Regions from separate parts of the Homo sapiens genome. Here region 1 is linked to region 2. Evidence: promoter capture Hi-C in human tissues and cell types (Jung and others, 2019). All regions are on one chromosome and are shown on one strand. The core of a region is centred on a gene start or on the middle of the fragment in contact, and the rest is flanking DNA. Distances in the headings are between cores, read along the strand shown. Region 1 overlaps ACBD3 (acyl-CoA binding domain containing 3). Region 2 holds the start of MIXL1 (Mix paired-like homeobox).

Evidence for each region. Contacts are between HindIII fragments. The study calls those that stand out against the background at their distance.
Region 1: a contact is called between a fragment that was not itself captured here and the fragment with the promoter of MIXL1 in region 2, in 2 of the 25 tissues and cell types used here (H1 embryonic stem cells and mesendoderm cells).

Annotation. Positions count from the first base shown.
Region 1 is chr1:226,171,431-226,175,554 of GRCh38, forward strand. All of the region lies in intron 1 of ACBD3 (acyl-CoA binding domain containing 3), which reads right to left. Among named protein-coding and RNA genes, the nearest start is that of ACBD3, 13 kb to the right of the region's middle. The HindIII fragment of the contact is 6,469 bases long and covers 1-4,124 here.
Region 2 is chr1:226,222,164-226,226,388 of GRCh38, forward strand. MIXL1 (Mix paired-like homeobox) reads left to right here and starts at 1,501. Exons shown (of 2, transcript NM_031944.3): 1 at 1,501-1,911; 2 at 3,344-4,225. The coding sequence starts at 1,519. The coding sequence ends at 3,649. It overlaps LOC124904528 (a long non-coding RNA gene), which reads left to right. Exons shown (of 2, transcript XR_007066907.1): 1 at 1-61; 2 at 176-335. RefSeq lists an enhancer at 1,820-1,879 and a silencer at 1,925-2,219. The HindIII fragment of the contact is 15,954 bases long and covers 1-4,225 here.

The DNA of each region.
Region 1 (4,124 bases), core at 381-2,880, 51 kb before region 2:
GAGCCACTGTGCCTGGTCGAGTTTCAGTACTTTTGGATGTTATTTTAACGTCTGCCCTTTTTACACCTGACAGAATTAAAAATACAGTGCAAACTTAAAAAGTATATTTATTTATTTATTATTTTGAGATGAAGTCTTGCTCTGTTACCCACGATGGAGCACAGTGGCGTGATCTCGGCTCACTGCAACTTCTGCCTCCCGGGCTCAAGCGATTCTTGTGCCTCAGCCTCCTGAGTAGCTGGGACTACAGGTGTGCGCCACCGTGCCTGGCTAATTTTTGTATTTTTCACAGAGATGGGGTTTCACCATGTTGGGTTGGCCAGGCTGGTCCTGAACTCCTGACCTCAGGTGATCTGCCCGCCTCAGCTTCCCAAAATGCTGGGATTACAGACGTGAGCCACCGTGCCTGGCCAATAAATGTGTTTTTAAAAAGAAGAATATGTGGCCACACACGGTGGCTCATGCCTGTAATCCCGGCACTTTGGGAGGCTGGGGCGGGTGGATCACCTGAGGTCAGGAGTTTGAGATCAGCCTGACTAACATGAGAAACCCCGTCTCTAATGAAAATACAAAAATTAGCCAGGCATGCTGGCGCACACCTATAATCCCAGCTACTTGGGACGCTAAAGCAGGAGAGTTGCTTGAACCTGGGAGGCGGAGGTTGCAGTGAGCCGAGATCGTGCCACTGTACTCCAGCCTGGGAAACAAGAGCAAAACTCCATCTCAAAAAAAAAAAAAAAGAGGAATACATTTTCAGTGCTAGTCCTGGTCAGGCAAACAGATTCGCTGACCTCTGTGAACTTCAGTGCTTAAGCCTACGTTTTTGTTCACAGGCCCTCATCAAAAAACACGCCCAGCAAATCTCACAAAAGAAATTGACTTTATGGGTCAACTACTGTGAGAATGAACAAAACAGTATATCCATTCTTGTGAACTGTCCTTGCATTCCCATTTACTCTTTTATGCACGTACTAGTTTTAAGAATTGCTCTATCGCCAGCTGCAGTGGCATGCACCTGTAGTCCCACCTACTTGGGAGGCTGAGACAGGAAGATCATTTGAATCCACAAGTTAGAATCTAGCCTGGGCAATCCATTAAGATTCTGACTCTGAAGAAAATAAAAATAATTGCTCTATAATCCTTTCTTTAAATCTTACTACTGAATCTCCAAATTAATAATTTTTCTAGATGAGAGCCAAATTTGTCTCAAAAAAAAAATCAAGAAAACAAACAGCCAGGTGCAGTGGCTCACACCTCTAATCCCAACACTTTGGGAGGCTGAAGGGGGAGGATCACTTGAGTCCAGGAGTTTGAGACCAACCTGGGCAACACTGCAAGACCCCATCTCTACAAAAAACTAAAAAACAGCTGGGTGTGGTGGCATACAGCTGGGTGCGGCGGCATGCGCCTGAAGTCCAGGCTTCTCTGGAGGCTCAGGATTGCTTGAGCCTGAAGGTCGAGGCTCCAATAGACTGTGAAAGCACCACCGAACTCCAGCCTGGGTGACAGATGAAGACCCTGTCTAAACAACAAACAAACAAACAAACAAACCCAGCTGGGCCTGGTGGCTCATGCCTATAATCCTGGCACTTTGGAAAGCTAGGGCAGGTGGATTGCTTGAGCCCAGGAGTTTGAGACCAGCCTGCGAAACAAAGTGAAATCCTGTCTCCACACACATACAAAAAACCAAAATTTAGCTGGGCATGGTGGCGTGTACCACAGTCCCAGCTACTAGGGTGGCCAAGATGAGAGGATCCCTTGATCTTGGGCATTGAGACTGTGGTGAGCCATGATGGTGCCACTGCACTCCAGCCTGAGTGACAGAGTGAGACCCTGTCTCAAAACGAAACAAAATTCAAAATGTTAATACTAATAATTATTTTTGAAAGACTGTATTACAAATTAATTTTATTTTATTTATTCATTTTTTATTTCCCCAAATTTTCAGTAAGCATATGTACTTTGTAATCAAACACACATACACATTATCTTTTTTAACACACATTTTTAAAGTCGAAGCAATGTATTTTCAGCCTTTGGGATGAGGTTAAGAGATTATTCTCCCAAGGAATATACAAAACCCAGGAGGCTGTGCTAACCCCAACCACTTTCGGTATAGCACAGTTCACACAGTACTGAAGTTCTAAGCTTCAGAAAAAAAACACAGAAAAATAAAAATCCTTCACAATCTATATTGCTATGCAGACTATTAGTATTACACAAAAGGTTACAGCTCTCTTACTCTTCAGGTGGCTCTGGTTGACACATCACAAGAGTTTAGTATTTTAAATCAGGTGAGAATAATTTTCTTCTTTTTTTTTCTTTTCTTTTTTTTTTTTTTTTTTTTTGAGACAGAGTCTCACTCTGTTGCCCAGGCTGGAGTGCAGTGGGATGATCTCGACTCACTGCAACTTCCACCTCCCAGGTTCAAGTGATTCTCCTGCCTCAGCCTCCCCAGTAGCTGGGATTACAGAAGTGTGCACTACCACACCTAGCTAATTTTTTTATTTTTAGTACAGAAGGGGTTTCACCATGTTGACCGGGCTAGTCTCAAAACTCCTGACATCAGGTAATCCGCCTGCCTCAGAGCCCCGAAGACCTGGGATTACAGTGTGAGCCACCGCACCCAACCAAGAATAATTTTCTTCTAAATTATTTCTGGTACCATAAACGTTAAATGTAGTTAGCAGGAAAATAATAAGTACCACTAACTGCACAGACACAAAAAGCCTTGTAGAAACTCAAAAATCTTTAACCAGGGCCCTATTCCTAAAGGAAAGTTCTATTTCAGTCCTCCCAGAAGGGAACACAAGCATCATCCTCGGCTCTTGCACTCATTAATTATTAATATTACAAAGTTATTTAATTCAATCAATTTTGGAATTCTGCTTTCTATGGCAAACAAAACCAAACACAAATTCTGCTTGGAAAAGAAAACATGCAGATAAACCTCTAATTAAACATGATAGATTGAACACAGACAATTACCTCTGATCCTTAATGAAACCACACTAAAAGGAATAAGGAAGCCAATTTAGAGAACCCTGGAAAAAGCCAGGTGTGGTGGCTCACGCCTGTAATCCCAGCACTTTGGGAGGCCAGGGCAAGTGGATCACCTGAGGTCAGGAGTTCGAGACCAGCCTGACCAACATGGTGAAACCCAGTCTCCACTAAAAATGCAAAAATTAGCTGGGAGTGGTGGTGCACGCCCTGTAATCCTAGCTACTTGGGAGGCTGAGGCAGGAGAATCGCCTGAACCCGGGAGGCAGACGTTGCAGTGAGCCAAGATCGTGCCACTGTACTCCAGCCTGGGTGACAGAGCCAGACTCCGTCTCAAAAACAAACAAACAAAAAAAGAATACTGAATGCTAGAAAACAATGAATGGGAAGGTGGGCACAGTGGCTCAGGCCTGTAATCCCAGCACTTTGGGAGGCCAAGGCAGGCAGATCACCTGAGGTCAGGACCAGCCTGACCAACATGGTGAAACCCCATCTCTACTAAAAATAAAAAAAAAATAGCCCGGCATGGTGGCATGCACCTGTAATCCCAGCTACTCACGAGGCTGAGACAGGAGAATCGCTTGAACCTGGGAGGCGGAGGTTACAGTGAGCCGAAATTGCCACTGTGTTCCAGCCTGACAAAAGAGTGAGACTCCATCTCAAAAAAAAAAAAAAAAAAAAGAAAGAAAAAGAAAAAAGAAAGCAATGAATGGAATAATGCCTTCAAAATTCCGGAAGGAAATTATTTCCAATCTAGACTTTTATGCCCAATCAAATAAATCAAAAGTGACAGTAAAACACATTTTTGGAAAGGCATGGTCTCATGCACTCTTTTCACAAGAAGATATTAAGGGGTGTGCATTTCCAAAGTAATGGAATAAATAAAAACAACAACAAAGGAAAATAAGTGATTCAGGGAAAACAAAATCTAACCACAATAGGAAAAGACGAAGGTAATTTCCAGGATGACAGTTGGGCAGCCGACTTAACTAAGTCTTACCACAAACACTAAGACTGATTCAAGAATTTAAGGACATTTAAGATAGATGTCTTTATAAAAAGGTTTGCACAAGAACAAAAATGTAATCAAAGTGTATCATCTGTTTCAGCAATGAATAACATAA
Region 2 (4,225 bases), core at 251-2,750:
CAACCAAGAGAAGAGGGGGAAAGAAAGGAGAAGGGGTGGAAGGAAGATGGAAGAGCAGGAGGTAAGTATATCAGCTGCCCAGAAGGGCCTCAGGGGCTACACAGGACACAGTCCCTGCCAACCCCACCCCTTACCACAGCCAGGAGAGAATCAAGCCCAAAATTCTTCTCTGCAGCAGCTCCAAGAAAACTTTCCGCTTTGCCACCTGGAATGTCCACCCAGGATAAAAAGATCCAAGCTCTTCTGAGACTGTCTTTTGACCTTCTAGAATGCAGAGACAGGACGGGGATTGTGCCCTGAAAGATCCTCCCAATAAAGATCTCCCTTTGAGTCGACCACAGTGAGTGATCCCGGTGAAATCAGCGCTCAGGTGCTGGGGGCAAAAAGACCTGGGCCTCTGTGTTCCTCTCTTGAGTTCTTGCACTGTGGTGGGGCAGTTCCCATAGTGGACCATGGGTTTCTCTTTCAATAAGGAGAGCTCAGTGACATCCAATTCGACAGACATTCACTAAGGGGCCTAGCACCGCGCCTCACGCAGAATAGGTGTACAAAGCAGACACTCAATAAACTCAGAAAGGGAGAGGTGGGTTCCTGCTTGCTAAGACTTTATATCTAGCAGATAGAGAAACCATAACCATAGCACAAAGTAGAGAAAATGGGAGCTTTCAGAGCCCCAAGGGGCAGAGGAAAGAATGATGATTCAGGGCGCGTGGAAACTTCATGAGGTGGCTTTCATCTCCTCCCATCCAATAGACGGGTCTTAAGCATTGTTGAGTATCTCCAGAAAGGCCAAACTGCGCCGTATCCTCTGCTAATGGGGCACGTTGCCAACCCCGCCCTACCTAGGGTATCTTTATTGGTGGGCCCATGGACATTCCAGCCAGACCCCCCCACTCCCCCCACCCATTTAATCAGGAGGAATGTGCTGCCCCCTGGATCCTTTATCTTCACCCCCCTCCCCGCTTGGATTCAGGATGTGTTAGGGAGGCTTGCAGAAGACAGGGGCCGGGCTGTTTGACCAACCTGGTACAGGGTCTAGCACATAGCAGGGGTGGTAAATAAATAGCTTTGATGAGGACAGACGGGACTAGGGCAAGGCTCAAGGCCCAGGCCATGTAAGGCACAGGCCAGGCAAGGTGCTTCCGCCGCTCTTAACGGGGATTTGACCCGGAGAAGAGAGTTCTGTCGCCTGCGGCCCGCGCACCCGGGCCCCTCCGGGCTGCCCCTCCCAGGCAAATAGTCCTTCGGGGATGTGGATTGCGCCGTCCGGGCGGGTGGGCGGGGAAGAACACGGAGGGGGCCGGGACCCAAGTTCACGCCTCCCTCCTGCATCCCGCAGCCGGCGGAAGCGATTATTCCCCGGCGTCTGGCGGGGCCGGGGGCGGGCTCGCACCCGGAGGAGACACGGGTCTCCCCGAGCCCACCTTTGATCGCACCGCCCCGCCTTCCCAGCCCCTGGCCCGGGAGGGTATAAGTGCGGCCCGCGCCCCTCCGAGCGGCGCGCTGGGTTCCGGAGCGATGGCCACAGCCGAGTCCCGTGCGCTCCAGTTTGCCGAGGGCGCCGCGTTTCCAGCGTACCGGGCCCCCCACGCCGGCGGGGCGCTCCTGCCGCCCCCGAGCCCTGCGGCAGCCCTGCTCCCTGCGCCGCCCGCGGGCCCCGGCCCAGCGACCTTTGCGGGCTTCCTCGGCCGGGACCCCGGGCCGGCCCCGCCGCCCCCCGCCAGCCTGGGCTCGCCTGCGCCCCCCAAAGGCGCGGCCGCCCCGTCGGCGTCGCAGCGCCGCAAGCGCACGTCTTTCAGCGCCGAACAGCTGCAGCTGCTGGAGCTCGTCTTCCGCCGGACCCGGTACCCCGACATCCACTTGCGCGAGCGCCTGGCCGCGCTCACCCTGCTCCCCGAGTCCAGGATCCAGGTGAGGGCCCGCTGCGTTCGCAAGTGCGCGCTGGAGCGGAGGCGCTGCGGACTCTAGGTCTGGACTGCGGGCTCCTGAGGCCACACCCGGGACGTTGCAGGCACGGTGCTTCCCCTGAGGCTCTGCGTACTAGACTGAAATAGGGGGTGATATCGGCACCTGCTGCATAGGGTGGTTGCGAGGCCTGTGTGAAATAATTTAGGCCTGCACTGAACGATTTCTCTCATTATTAAATATAATAAGGGCTCCTAGGAGGCTAGCCGGTCCCCTGAAATGGCCAGAAAGTAATTCCCAGCAGGAAGATAAGAAGTTTTACACTTTTTCTTTATCCGGGAAGAAGACACAGATGAGGGGCAGTTGGGGTTTTCCTCTGGCTTTGAGCGTGAGAATGGTAGCTGAAAACGGGGAAGGCTGGCTCGCCAAGTTACCCCCATGCTACTTTCTTGGCAAGTGTTACGTTTTGGGATTAGATTTGAAAGGATGTAGCGAATTGAGATAAAGCGAGAAGCACCTGGAGCTTGTTTTCAGTTTGAAAAATCTAGTGCAAGGTGTGTTTATTTTTATTTATTTAGTTTTTATTTGAGATGGAGTTTTAACTCTTGTTGCCCAGGCTGGAGTGCAATGGCGCGATCTGGGCTCACTGCAACCTCCGCCTCCCAGGTTCAAGTGATTCTCCTGCCTCAGCCTCCCGAGTAGCTGAGATTACAGGCGCCAGCCACCACGCCCAGCTAATTTTTGTATTTTTAGTAGAGACGGGGTTTTACCATGTTGGTCAGGCTGGTTTCGAACTCCTGACCTCAGGTGATCCACCCGCCTCAAAGTGCTGGGATTACAGGCGTGAGCCACCGCGCCCGGCCGTGTTTATTATCTAAAGTAATTTAGATCAGAATCTTAGAGTTGGTAAGGAGAAGCCTGCCTTTTTGTCTGTCTGTAGCCCCGTGGTCGGTGTCCAAGCGCAGTTTTAAGTAGCAGCCCTCATTTAAACACTGGGAGAGTGGACTTGTTTTCTCTGCACCCCTGGCGGTCATACAGCTGTCAGTCTCAACAGCTGGCATGAGCAAAATACCTCCTTGATTAGTTTGACAAGGGAGTGCAGACCTTAAAAAACAGGTTTTCTTCATAATTTAATGCAGTTTTTTTCTAAGAATTCTAAGTGCTTCCATTTTTGTGACCCCATTTTTCATGAAAATTTCTCTAACTAAAGAGTAGATAGAACTAGGCATTATTCCAATGTTTCCATCTGGGAATGGGGAGGCAAGGAAAGCCAGGTGTTCTGAACTTCTAATCGTCAACCCAAGTGCTTTCTGAAGACAAGGCTCTGGAGAGGAAGCCAGGGGATGTTAAACTGGAACTTACCAGTATGAACTGTGAACATAATGTTAGCATAAAAAACTCCAACCAAAAGCAGCTTTTATTTTCTCCCCTCTTCCAGGTATGGTTCCAGAACAGGCGTGCCAAGTCTCGGCGTCAGAGTGGGAAATCCTTCCAACCTTTGGCTAGGCCGGAGATTATCCTCAACCACTGTGCTCCTGGAACTGAAACGAAATGTCTGAAGCCCCAGCTGCCTCTTGAGGTAGATGTGAACTGCCTGCCCGAACCAAACGGGGTTGGAGGGGGCATCTCTGACTCTAGCTCCCAAGGTCAGAATTTTGAAACCTGTTCCCCTCTCTCTGAAGACATTGGTTCAAAGCTGGACTCATGGGAGGAACACATCTTTTCTGCCTTTGGTAACTTTTGAGGATTCTGGGAGAATTCGGGATAAGCTCTGAGGAGCCATGACTGACAGCCTGGGAGAGACACATCAGCATACTGTCCTTTCTGACTTCCATGCTAAGGACATGTCCTTGTTAACCTTGATGATGGTTTTGACAGCACCTCTCACATTTGAAGGTACCCCGCCACTTTGTCAATGACGTTTTAAGCCCACACTCCCACCCCAGAGTTCCCGCATTCGTTTTTACCTGTGTTCTCTCCAAGCCTGCACATTCCATTGGTCTGCATCCCTATGCCTTCTTGCCAGGCCTGTTTTTAGTTTTTGGACTGGTTGTTCAGAACTCATTATTTTCTTCACAAGAATGCCTCAGCTTGACTCAGTTTCCCCTTGTGTTTGACAGCTGCCATTTTCTCCTGGTCCCTCCAAGGCTTATAATCTTAAAGTCACTCTACCCCGTCTCTTCAACCCTCATCCTAGGTTTATTACTTTTTAAAATTGGGCCTGTCATCTTCACGTTCAATCATAGCTCCAATGACTCTGCATGCAGATTATTTCGACAGCCCCCTTGCCTCTAGCTTCTCAACTACTTAAAAAAAATTA